Regions from separate parts of the Homo sapiens genome. Here all the other regions are linked to region 1. Evidence: promoter capture Hi-C in 16 types of primary human blood cells and fetal thymus (Javierre and others, 2016). All regions are on one chromosome and are shown on one strand. Each heading gives the region's core, a stretch centred on a gene start or on the middle of the fragment in contact. The rest is flanking DNA. Distances are from core to core; before and after follow the strand shown.

What was found. The method cuts DNA at HindIII sites, captures the fragments that hold promoters and counts their contacts. A CHiCAGO score of 5 or more calls a contact.
Region 2: a fragment that was not itself captured here is called in contact with the fragment with the promoter of ZNF44 in region 1 in 2 of 17 cell types (erythroblasts and M2 macrophages); the score reaches 6.6 in erythroblasts.
Region 3: a fragment that was not itself captured here is called in contact with the fragment with the promoter of ZNF44 in region 1 in 2 of 17 cell types (erythroblasts and naive CD4 T cells); the score reaches 6.3 in erythroblasts.

Annotation. Positions count from the first base shown.
Region 1 is chr19:12,292,819-12,297,304 of GRCh38, reverse strand. ZNF44 (zinc finger protein 44) reads left to right here and starts at 2,422. Exons shown (of 4, transcript NM_016264.4): 1 at 2,422-2,613. The coding sequence starts at 2,611. RefSeq lists an enhancer at 2,038-2,087 and a silencer at 2,638-2,867. The HindIII fragment of the contact is 16,141 bases long and covers 1-4,486 here.
Region 2 is chr19:12,474,998-12,479,366 of GRCh38, reverse strand. All of the region lies in intron 1 of ZNF709 (zinc finger protein 709), which reads left to right. Among named protein-coding and RNA genes, the nearest start is that of ZNF709, 7.6 kb to the left of the region's middle. The HindIII fragment of the contact is 6,195 bases long and covers 1-4,369 here.
Region 3 is chr19:12,524,644-12,529,106 of GRCh38, reverse strand. ZNF564 (zinc finger protein 564) reads left to right here. Exons shown (of 4, transcript NM_144976.4): 2 at 411-537; 3 at 743-803; 4 at 1,191-3,734. The coding sequence ends at 2,661. Among named protein-coding and RNA genes, the nearest start is that of ZNF564, 25 kb to the left of the region's middle. The HindIII fragment of the contact is 772 bases long and covers 2,619-3,390 here.

The DNA of each region.
Region 1 (4,486 bases), core at 1,173-3,672:
TCAACACCAGCCAGGCCAACATGGTGAAACACTATCTCTACTAAAAAAACAAAAATTAGCTGGGCATGGTGGTGTGCACCTGTAGTCTCAGCTACTCGGGAGGCTGAGGCAGGAGAATCGCTTGAACCTGGGAGTCGGAGGTTGCAGTGGGCCGAGATCGCGCCACTACACTCAAGCCTGGGCAACAGAGTGAGACTCTATCTCAAAAACAACAACAACAAAAACAAAAACAACAAAATAAAACAAAAAAAAAACAACCATGCTGCCCTATAATTCCAGTTTTTTCACACATTTAACAATTTCATTTCATTGTTGATGTGTTTTTATTTTCTGGGATGAAAATGAATAGATCGCAAAAAAATTATATCAGTGAGAAAATTATGGCAGTGGAAGAGATCTGAGCCAACACCCGTTCTGCCCCGCCCCGCCCCCCGCCCCTGCCAACCCTCTGTCTTCTCTTTCCCTTAATCCTGGGCTCTTAGGCACAGCTAACTTTGGAAGATAGCTTAAATGATAATAAGCCTTCCCCAAAACTCAACTGCCTTTGTAAAACGAATGAATGGCCATCAGGCTGAGGGATGAAAGGAATCGGAATGCTGCTAAAGTGTAGACATAGATTGCCAGCTATTTCTGCAGATAACACCACTATTGTAGATTAGCATTTGTAGACGTATTTTCAGTTTTTGTTTGTTTGTTTGTTTTTTTTTTGCATGTCTGACACCACCTGCACCTGCCAACTCTGCTCCTGTGGCCCCAACCAGAAGTGATTCAGCATAACAGGATAGGTTTTTTTTTTTTTTGTCTTTTTTTTGTTTTTTTTTGAGACGGAGTTTCGCTCTTGTTGCCCAGGCTGGAGTGCAAAGGCACGATCTCGGCTTGGCGCGATCTCAGCTCACCGCAACCTCCACCTCCCGGGTTCAAGTGATTCTCCCGCCTTAGCCTCCCAGGTAGCTGGGATTACAGACATGTGCCACCACGCCCAGCTAATTTTGTATTTTTAGTAGAGACGAGCTTTCTCCATGTTGGTCAGGCTGGTCTCAAACTCCCGACCTCAGGTGATCCGCCCGCCTGGGCCTCCCAAAGTTCTGGGATTACAGGTGTGAGCCACCGGGCCCGGCCTCTTTTTTTCTTTTTTAAATATGTAGCAGTACAAGCCGCAGACAAGAACCCCTCAGACACCGAGTTGTGGAAGGAAAGGGCTTTATTCAGCTGGGCTGGGAGCATCGGCGGACTCACGTCTCCAAAAACCGAGCTCCCCGAGTGAGCAATTCTTGTCCCTTTTAAGGGCTTACAACTAGGAGTCCGCGTGAGAGGGTCGTGATTGATGGAGCAAACAGTGGGTACGTGACTGGGGGCTGCATGCACCGGTAACCAGAACTGAACAGAACAGGACAGGGATTTTCACAGTGCTTTTCCATACAATGTCTGGAATCATAGATAACACAGTTAGGTCAGAGGTTGATTTTTAACTACCCAGCCCAGGGCACAAGCCGGGTTATCTGCCTGTGGATTTCATTTCTGCCTTTTAGTTTTTACTTCTTCTTTGGAGGCAGAAATTGGGCATAAGACAATATGAGGGGTGGTCTCCTCCCTTATAGTATAGAGACGGAGTTTCACTCTATGTCCAGGCTGGTCTTGAACTACTGGCCTCAAGCGATCCTCCCACCTAGGCCTCCCAAAGTATTGGGATTACAGCGGTGAGCCACCACGCACTGCCAAGAGGACAGATTCCATCCCCAGTGATTTCATCCCCACCCCAACCAGTCAGTAGCAAGCCTAGCTACCTCCACCCTTTCTCCCAAACTGCCCTTGAAAAACCCCTACCAGAGGACCTTGGATGAGAATAATTTGAGTAGTAACTCCGTCTCTCACGTATCGTAGCTGGCCTAGTGTTTATTAAACTTTTTTTTTAACTGCAATACCGTGGTCTTTATTTGCGTAGCGCGCAGAAAGAACCCATCCAGCGCTTATAGTGGAAGAAAGGCTTGACCTTGCAGGCGACAGCCTCATCCCAAATTCCTGGTCCCTGGAGGACATCAGCACCACCCCCCCACCCACCCACCCCCTGTCCCCCGCTGCTACAGTGTGGCCTGTGTGGCCTCGGCTGCCCTCCTGCTCTGAGGCCAAGGGATGGCTCCACTGGACAGTGAGTCTGGGATTCCTTGCACACAATTGTTCAGGAGGAAGAAGCAAAAAGGGCCCACTGCGTACAGGTAGGAAATTCCGCTTTAAGGCAAACGTTTCCCGGGACGGGTCGGGTCACAACGCAGGGAGGAAGCCCGCCCTGCCAGGGGCCGGGTCTGGAACCTGTTCATCCGGCTGCACTCAGCACTGTGAGATCGCTTCTTCTGTCACTCAGTGCCCAGGAGGCGGGACCTGGAGGGCTACCCAATCAAAGTCGTGGGCGGGTTCCTGAGAATTGTCAATCAGGCGCGAGGCAGAGAGGAGGGTGTGACGTTCCAGGAGCTAGTGGCCTCTTCACCCTGGTGACCTCTGTTCCGTATTCTGTCACTGAGAGACGCCCTGGGACATCTGTGGTGGCTTTTGTCGCGCTGGGACCTACCCTGACTACGGGAGTTGGGAGGACCCGGGACACCGCACAGCCGGGAAATGGTGAGTGTGCGGGGCCCGGCGTCCTGAGGCAGGGCGAAGGGCTGGTCGGAACCAGTCGGAACCGGCTGTGGCGGGACCCGGGCCTCGCCGCAGCGTCTTTGGGGTCTGGGACCTGAGCGCCCCCTGCGCACCTCGGTCCTCGGTCCGTTTGGCCGCAGGGTGGGGCTGGGCCGGCAGCCGGGACCCCGGGCGTCCTGTCCCGTCCCTGAGCTGCGACTGCGGCCCCGGCCCCGGCGCCCCTCTCTGGGCAGCTCCGCGCCCTCAGCCCCGCTTCTCCCCAGATTGTGCGGCGGAACCAGTACAGGTTCGCAGCCCAAGTCACTGCACCCGGACGCCGAGGGCTGCAGCAGAAACGGTTTAATAGGAGAGGACACCCTAGATCCGCCTCCGTGAGAGGTTTGAGGATGGGGTGTTTAGGGGTCTGGACGGGGGTGGTTGGGATGTGGGGTCGCTGGTTGGTGGAGAAGTGAGGGGTGAATCTTGGGACTGGAGGTGAAGAAACCGCATTCTGCTGCTGAGTGGGCTTCCTTGTGGGGTCTTCAGCCTGCTTGGCGCCAGCCTTTCCGCTGGAATTCAAGATCTGAGAAAGAACTTAGACGACTCTTGAGCAACTCTCAGAGATCTTATCCCCAGGCCAATGGGGAAGCCGGCGGTCAGCGTCTGCTGTGACCTGACTCTCAGGGAGGCGGCTTCCTGTGAAGCAGCGGGGCTGAGGGCACCTGGTTAATATCTAACTGCAATCTCGCCTCCAGCCTGGCTCGCAGTTCCTGTGAGCCCGGTGAGGAGGCTGCACGGTGACGGTGGGAGGGTCACTAGGCACAAACCAGACTCGTGTGTGGGGTTTGTGTGTGGGAGGAGCTGTGGTCTCTGTGCTCTTCAGTCCTTTCTTTCCAAGGGCGACCATTTCTCCTCCGAGGCTTTCAAAGATATTGGCATCAGGGTCTTTGAGACCTGTCCCTTCATCCTAACTCCTCTTGGGGCTAACAGTAAATCTTTTGGTTTCCAGAGCCTTCCATATGCTAACTTCACTCCTCAATTCCCAGTAACGTTATGAACCCTTTGTCAGCAAGACGATATTTCAAATAGACACAGAATTTTGTCGTTTGTTTTCAGATAGCAATGTATGGCTCTTTTTAAACAGATTTATTTTGTTTTCCTTAACATTTCACATGTGAGGAAGAAGAGAATAACCACCTGACACTGCTGTAAAAAAAACCAAACCTTTGTGCCTCTTTTATCTCCCCTAGGCACAGATGCCTTCTCAGTATGTCCTTTACAGGGTGATGTGACCTCAGCCCACCCTGTATCTTTTCCAGGCCCTGTGTTATGGAACTTTCTGGGGCTACCCTAAGATGCTGGAAGCTGCCAATCTCATGGAGGGCCTAGTGGATATCGGCCCTTGGGTCACTCTTCCCAGAGGACAGCCTGAGGTGTTGGAGTGGGGCCTCCCAAAGGATCAGGTGGATGCACTGGGGTGGGAGGAATCTTCTGGTATATCATTCCTGTAAAAAGCTAACCCCTGGGCTGGGCGCGGTGGCTCACGCCTGTAATCCCAGCACTTTGGGAAGCCGAGGCGGGCGGATCACCTGAGGTCAGGGGTTCAAGACCACCCTGGCCAACATGGTGAAACCCCATCTCTACTGAAAATACAAAAATTAGCCGGGCATGGTGGCAGGTGCCTGTAATCCCAGCTACATGGGAGGCTGAGGCAGGAGAATCACTTGAACCTGGGAGGTGGAGGTTGCAGTGAGCCGAAATCACAATCATGCCATTGCACTCCAGCCTGGGCGACAAGAGGGAAACTCTGTCTCAAAAAAAAAAAAAAAAAAAAAAAAACCTAACCTCTGGGACATTGACATTTTTTTCCCCAAGC
Region 2 (4,369 bases), core at 851-3,350, 180 kb before region 1:
CAGCCAGGGCACTTGCTCTAGCCACCCCCCAAATACTCACTTTTGATAATTTTTTATTTTTTTTGAGATGGGGTCTTGTTCTGTTGCCCAGGCTGGAGTACAATGACATGATGATAGCTCATTGCAGCCTCAACCTCCTGGGCTCAAGTGATCTTCCCACCTCAGCCTCTTCAGTAGCTGGGACTACAGGTGTGTGCTGCCACTCCCAGCTAATTTTTAAATTTTTTGTAGTGATGGAGTCTTACTATGTTGCTCAGGCTAGTCTTGAACTCCTGGGCTCAGGCAATCCTCCTGCCTCAGCCTGTCAAAGCACTGGTGTTATAGGTATAAACCACTGTGCCTGGCCTTTTAATAATTTCTTAAGCATACTGTCAGTGTTTCTTTTTATAAAAATAAGCAATTGCAAATGCATGTTTTTCATACTCATGTTGGTTCTGTAATGAGTAGTTGGACTCTGCATGTTTTGATTTTGGCTGTGCACATCATAAGCGTCACCCTTCTCTCTTCTCCTCGTGCTGCACACCTGGGCAAGCTGAAAAAGTCTGGGAGCAGGAAATTCAAACCACAGAAGCTCCTGCCCTTGAGCAGGTACTCTCTTGTAGCCCCACCCCCAAACTACAATAAAAACCCAGGCCAGGAGGCTTTCTTTGCTCTCTGAAGCTATGTCACACCTGCTTGGGCAGCCTGCCCTGCTTTCCCCAAGACCTCAATGATCACAGTAGTGAGTCTTTTCATACCCTTTGGTGTCTGTTCTCCACGCTGTTATTAGTGTCAACATTGGAACGACACAGGAATTGTTACCATGAGCATGGTGTTCAGACATTGACTGTCACCCCATGGGTCTGTCTTCTCTTGCACTGAATTGCTACCTGCTCTGTTGCCTGATGGCCAGCATGCACTTTCAGCTGCTGCTTTCTGGGAAGCTACTACTTTGAGTTGTGCTACTCTGTGCTGCATGTTGAGCCCTGCCAAGTCTGGGTTCTATGTTTAGCCAACTGGAGTTGGCCGTTTTGATAATTCCTTGGCTTTTTTGAAGAGGAATATGAGATTTGATACTCCTTAAAGTGGTCCTGGGTAGTGTTTCTTGGCCTGGACTTATCTGTGTGTTTTAGAGTGAAGCTGTGACTGCTGCTGACCTGGCATACAAGGTGCTCATGGGAAAGACTACCTGCCAGAGCAGTCATTTTTGAAAAAGAGACAAAAGAGAGGGGGAAAGGCAGCTGTTAGATGGTGGGCCGAGTCCACACTCCTAATAGCACAGGGCTCCCAAGGACCCTTAAGTGTTGCTGCTGTTGCTCTATTGCAGCAAGGATGCTGACCCTCAGGATTATAGGGCACACTCATGTTTCCTCTGCAGCATTGCAAAGGGTTCATTCAAAGCCAGCTTAAGGCCCAGGTGCTTAAACTTTATAAAGCAACCATGAGGGACAGGCCCCTAAGCCTGATAATAGTGATTTGTGGCTCTCTGGAGGGAAAAGAACACCCCTCCCCTGTAGAGAGGATTTTGCTGTCAAAATATATCCAGGGACAAAAACAAAAACAAAACAAACATGTTAGGAAGGAAAGGAACAAAAGAAAAAAATGCTGAAAAAGAGGTCCACAATTTGACCCAATTGGAAATTCCAAATAGACTAAAGGAATTTAGACGGCAAAAAAGATAAAAGAGCCTCTATATCATAGGTTCTGTATTAATTTTAACATCTTATGTAATGTATTAATTAACACACTATAGGATTAGCCAATACAAGGGCTCAAATTATGGTTATACCTGGGAGACCCACTAAAATTTAAGCAAGGTATCCCCTGATAATCTTAAGGGAGTTACTGAATATAAAATAGAAGACAAATAAGTATGTCTCATCTTAGCCATCATAACTGTGCCTAAATTCCCCATGTTCATGGCACCCAGTGTCCTAAAATACGCCAGAATGAACAGGTAAACTCTAAACCAGTGAGTCATAAGTGAAATTTAAATTAAATCTTTGGCACTTACAAACTGGCTTGACAGAATGAGACCCTGTGGAACTTACTCCCCAGTTAAATTAGTTATGATGGCTCAATATAAATTGAACAGGGCCTTGAAGGGTTGAAAAGTATTATGTAAAACTTGTTTAGTGAGGAAGTGATTATTCCCCGTGCTTCTCGTTTTAAAAGTACAGTTTGGCCTTTCTTAAACTTGGAGAGAATGAATGGCAACCCACAATGGATTACCATAACCTTAATGCTGTGGTCCCACCCATTAAGCCCCTATACCAATATCCAACATGGAAATTACTGACACCATCCAGCTGATCTCACAGATTTCACCATCTCACAGGCTAATTATATAACTTTACCTAGTTTCCCAAGGGAACCTCAACAGCCTTGCTGTTGCACAGTCTTTGCAGGCAAAATCTGAACTGCATCCACCTTTCTCTAGAACACAGGTATGATATTACATTAATGACAGCCTTGTCTGAGGACATTGTTTTGGCATTCATTCAGGACACATAAATACTGAAAAAAAAAATAGAGCTTACAAAAAGTCCATTGCCCCATATATAAAATAAGAGACCTTTATGTTTTGGTTAAGTTCCTAAAAACCATTTGGTAAAAGGAGGGCCGCTCCATCCCTGACACTACTATGAAATAGCTATTGTCCCTCTGACTACCCACAGCATCTTCTAGGTTCTTTTGATGTTCTGGAGGCAACATATTCCTTGTTTATAAATTTTACTTAACCACTTTATGCTGTTAATTGCAAATTGGCCCACCTTAAGTGGGTCCCCCTACCGCAAAAGGCTCTAGAGTCTTTTTCATTCTCTTAACACAGAGCTTTCATAGAGAAGGAGCTTTTGCATTTTAATGAAGTCAAACTTACTGATTTATTTTGTATGGATTTTGCTTATATCTAAACATTTGTCACCAAACCCAGGGTCACCTAGATTTTCTTCATTAACTTTTAGTATCCTATAACTTTACTTTTTTTTTTTTTTTTGAGGCAAGTTCTCCCTCTTGCCCAGGCCAGAGTGCAGTAGTGCAATCTTGGCTCACTGCAGCCTCAACCTCCTGGGCTCAAGCACTCCTCCCACTTCAGCCTCCTGAGTAGGTGGGACTACAAGCGTGCACCACCACACCTGGCTAATTTTTGTATTTTTTGTAGAGATGGGGTCCTACTTAGTTGCCCAGGCTGGTCTCAAACTCCTGACTTCAAGCTATCCTCCTGCCATGGCCTCCCAGAGTGCTGGGATTACAGGCATGAGCCACTGCTCCTGGCCTAGATTTTACATTTAGTTCTGTGATCCATTTTGAGCCAGTTTTTGTTTAAGGTGTAACGTCTGTTTCTAGATTTGTGTTTTTTTCATTGTGTTTTGCATGTGGATGTTCAGTTTTTCCAACACTGTTTGTTGAAAAAGGCTATCTTTTTTCATTGAATTGCTGTTGGTCATTTGTTGAAAATCAGATGACTCAGTGAGTCTATACTATACTAATGTGAGTCTGTAAGAAGGCAATTGACTTTTGTATATTAAGATTATATCCTCAACCTCTAGTTTGAGGAGTTTGTTGTGGATTCTTTGAGATTTTCTACTTAGACAATCATGTCACATGCGACAAAGACAGTGATATTTCTTTGTTCCCAATCTATATCTCTTCTCTCCTCTCCTCCCCTCTCCTCTCATTAGTTACACTTTGAGTACAATCTGTTGAGTAGGAGTGGTAAGAGGGGACATCTTTGCCCATTTCCTCATCTTACCAGGAAAGCATCTATTTTCTCACTATTAAATATGATATTAGCTGCAGGTTTCCTATAAATACTGCTTCTCAAAAAGAGGAAAGTCTATCTCCAGTTTCTTATCATAAATGCATGTTGGATTTTGCCCATAGCTTTTTCATTTTTATTTTTCCCACTTACATTTGTGATATTAGTAATTTCTGTTCTCTGTTTTTCAGTTAGCTTAACCATACATTTATCAAATATATTGATCTTTTCAAAGAAACACCTTTGGTTTTGTTTAATTTCTCTTTTTACTATTTCTTCTGTTGTGTGCTTACTTTGGGTTTAATTTGCTCATATTTTCTTGCTTTCCTCATGTAGATGCTTAGATTTTTTTTTTTTTTTTTTTTTTTTTAAGACGGAATCTCACTCTGTTGCCCAGGCTGGAGTACAGTGGTGCGATCTTGGCTCACTGCAACCTCCGCATCCTGGGTTCAAGCGATTCTTCTGCCTCAGCCTCCCAAGTAGCTGGGACTACAGGTGCCCACCACCATGCCCGGCTAATTTTTGTATTTTTAGTAGAAACAGGGTTTTGTCACTTTGGACAGGCTGGTGTCCAACTCCCGACCTCAGGTGATCTGCCTGCCTCAGCCTCCCAAAGTGCTGGGATTACAG
Region 3 (4,463 bases), core at 1,755-4,254, 230 kb before region 1:
CGTTTTGTCGACTTTTTTGTTTTGTTTTTTGTTTGTTTGTTTGAGATGGGGTCTCTCTCTGTCAGCCAGGCTGAAGTGCAGTGGCGTGATCTTGGTTCACCGTAACCTCTGCCTCCCTTGTTTAAGCGATTCCCCTGCCTCAGCCTCCTGAGTAGCCGGGATTAACAGGCATACGCCACCACGCCCAGCTAATTCATATATCTGTAGTAGAGATGGGGTTTCACCATGTTGACCGGGCTGGCCTCAAGTTCCTGACCTCAGGTGATCTGTATGCCTTGGCCTCCCAAAGTGCTGGGATTACAGGCATGAGCCACCACACCTAGCCATTTGTGAACTTTTATGAATTGGGTTTACATCCCTGTACTGTCATCTCATTCTTCCTCCTGCATTGCATATTTGGGATGTTTTAGGACTCAGTGGCCTCTGAGGATGTGGCTGTGAACTTCACACTTGAGGAGTGGGCTTTGCTGGATCCTTCCCAGAAGAAACTCTACAGAGATGTGATGCGGGAAACCTTTAGAAACCTGGCCTGTGTAGGTAAGGATGACATCATTCCTTCTTTTAGTCAGTTAGAGAAGAAGTATTTCTTGCTTTTTAATGCTTTTTCATGATGTCTAATGTGGAAAAGGGAATACTTGGGTGAATAAATCAGGGTTGTTTGCACCTTATCATGAACTTAGAATCTAGTCATTTTTCTGTAATGTCTATCAGTTCATAAGGATTTTTTCTGACTATATTTTAGGAAAAAAATGGGAAGACCAGAGCATTGAAGATTGGTACAAAAATCAGGGGAGAATTTTAAGGTAATTTGCACTGACAAGATAAAGCAATGTCTCCTTCTTAGTATGTCATGAAATTTTAAAAATAAGTAAACAAACCAGTAAGCCCAGCTTCAGATTTATTTATTCCTACAACTTTTTCACCAGAAAAAGAAAAAGTGGCATAGATGTTCAGTGTTGCAAAATCATTCACTTGGAAATAGTATTAAGAAACTGTATATATGGATATCACTTTTTTGGTGATAGCTACTGTCAAGCTCTCTTGCAGAGCATTCCATCCATTCACTTTCAAACAATTCATACAGGCCTGAAAACTTACCCTTTCCGCGATTATGGTAAAAATGTAAGTCGAATACCTATTAATAAATATAAAGTCACAAACCACTAAATCTTGCTTTCTATTTTTTCCAGAAATCATATGGAAGAGGGACTCAGTGAAAGTAAAGAATATGATCAATGTGGAGAAGCCTTCAGTCAGATTCTCAATCTTAATCTGAACAAGAAAATTCCTACTATAGTAAGACCATGTGAATGTAGTTTGTGTGGGAAAGTCTTCATGCATCATTCATCCCTTAGTAGGCACATCAGATCTCACCTTGGACACAAACCATATGACTATCAGGAATATGGAGAGAAACCATATAAATGTAAGCAGTGTGGGAAAGCCTTCAGTTCTTGTCAATCCTTTCGAAGACATGAAAGAACTCACACTGGTGAGAAACCCTATGCATGTCCGGAATGTGGGAAAGCCTTCATTTCTCTCCCAAGTGTTCGAAGACACATGATTAAGCACACTGGAGATGGACCATATAAATGTCAGGAATGTGGGAAAGCCTTTGATCGCCCAAGTTTATTTCAGATACATGAAAGAACTCACACTGGAGAGAAACCCTATGAATGTCAGGAATGTGCAAAAGCTTTCATTTCTCTTCCAAGTTTTCAAAGACACATGATTAGGCACACTGGAGATGGACCTTATAAATGTCAGGAATGTGGAAAAGCCTTTGACCGCCCCAGTTTATTTCGAATACATGAAAGAACTCATACTGGAGAGAAACCCCATGAATGTAAACAGTGTGGGAAGGCCTTCATTTCTTTCACAAATTTTCAAAGTCATATGATTAGGCACACTGGGGATGGACCTTATAAATGTAAAGTATGTGGGAGAGCCTTTATTTTTCCCAGTTATGTTCGAAAGCATGAAAGAACTCATACTGGGGAGAAACCCTATGAATGTAATAAATGTGGTAAAACCTTCAGTTCTTCCAGTAATGTTCGAACACATGAAAGGACTCACACTGGAGAGAAGCCCTATGAATGTAAGGAATGCGGGAAAGCCTTCATTTCTCTCCCAAGTGTCCGAAGACACATGATAAAGCACACTGGAGATGGACCTTATAAATGTCAGGTATGTGGTAGAGCCTTTGACTGTCCCAGTTCATTTCAAATACACGAAAGAACTCACACTGGAGAGAAACCCTATGAATGTCAGGTATGTGGGAAAGCCTTCATTTCTCTTAAAAGGATTAGAAAACATATGATACTGCACACTGGAGATGGACCTTATAAATGTCAGGTATGTGGTAAAGCCTTTGACTGTCCTAGTTCTGTCCGAACACATGAAAGAACTCATACTGGAGAAAAACCCTATGAATGTAAAGAATGTGGGAAAGCATTCAATTATGCCAGTTCCATTAGAATACATGAAAGAACTCATACCGGAGAAAAACCCTATGAATGTAAGCAATGTGGAAAAACGTTCAGTTATTCCAGTTCCTTTCAAAGACATGAAAGAGCTCATAATGGAGATAAACCTTACGTAAAGAATGTGGGAAAGCTTTCATTTATCACACAACCTTCGAATACCTGTGAAAATGAATAGTGGAGGACAGGTCTACAAGTATCTACATATCTAAAGAATATGGAAAGTCTTCAGTTTGCTTTCTGGGTTTCAGACTTGTTTGGGAGCTCACCCCTTTCTCCTGTTTCTCACTTTTGGAATAGGAATCTCTATCCTGTGCCTGTCTCATATTTTGGAAATACATGACTAGTTTGGTTTTCACCGGTTCGGAGCTGAAGAAGAATTTTGCCTCAGCATGAATTGAGTCTCATCCATATCTGAGTGATGTGATATTGAGATGACACTTTGGAGTTTGAGTTTAAACATTAGGCTTCATGCTGGAATTAACTGAGACTTTTGAGGCCTTTGGGATGAGATGAATATATTTTACATGTGATGACATGGATTTTGGGGGCCAGAGGTGTAATGTTTTGGCTGAGTGTATGCCACCTCAGATTCATATGTTGAAACCTTACCCCCGTGCCCCCCCTCTCCCCCACAATGTGATGGTATTTGGAGGCCCTGTCTCTGGTGGTTTTTAGGATTGGAGGACATCATGAAGATGGAGGCCTTGTAATTGGGATTAGTTTCCTGATAGGAATCCCTAGAGAGCTAGCTTTGCCCTTCACCATGAGAGGGTGCAGTGAGAAGATAGCTATCTTTGAACCGGGAAGCAGGCCCTTACCAGACATGGACTATGCCAGTGCCTTGATATTGGACTTCCCAGCCTCCCAAACCATGAGAAATAAATGTTTGTTGATTAATTAAGCTTTCCAATTTATGGTATTTTGTTTTAGCAACCCAAGCTAAGACACAATCCAATTTTAAAATGGAGGAAAGGACTTGAATAGACATTTCTCCAAAGAAGATACCCAGATGGCCAATAAGCACGTAACAATGCTCGACATCTTTAGTCATTAGGGAAATACAAATCAAACTCAAGACATACATAGCATCTCATTAGGATTAGTAGTATCAAAGATGGAAAACAAGAAATACTGTCAAGGATGTGGAATGTTGGAGAACATTGTGCACTATCACTGGGAATGTACAGTGGTATAAGCCTGCTGAAAACAGTATGGCAGATCCCCAGATTAAAATATAGAAATAACATATGATCAGCATTTCCATTTCTGGGAAAATAAAAAGATTGAAAGCAGGGCCGGGCGTGGTGGATCACGCTTGTAATCCCAGCACTTTGGGAGGCCGAAGCAGGCGGATCACAAGGTCAGGAGATTGAGACCATCCTGGCTAACATGATGAAACCCCGTCTCTACTAAAAAAAAATTAGCCGGGCGTGGTGGCAGGCGCCTGTAGTCCCAACTGCTCGGGAGGCTGAGGCAGGAGAATGGCATGAACCCGGGAGGCAGAGCTTGCAGTGAGCTGAGGTCGCGCCACTGCACTCCAGCCTGGGTGAGAGAGCAAGACTCCGTCTCAAAAAACAAAACAAAACAAAAAAGATTGAAAGCAAAGTCTCAAATAGGTTTTGTACACCTGTGTACATAGCATCATTCACAATAGGTAAACTCTGGAAACTACTCAGGTTTTCATCAACAGATGAATAAACAAAAGGAAGTTTATACATACAAGAGAATATTACTGAGTCTTACAAAGTAAGGAAATTTACAAATATGCTGCAAGATGAACCTTGACGTGCTAAGTGAAATGGGCCATTCATGTAAAGACAATACGGTATGATTCTACTTATATCAGGTATCTAGAGTAGTCATATTGATAGAAAAAGTACAATACCATTTGCCAAAGGTTAGGGAAATTGGGTAATGGATAGTTATTTCATGGGCATAGAGTTTCAATTTTGCAAGATAAAAAGGGTTCCAGAGGTG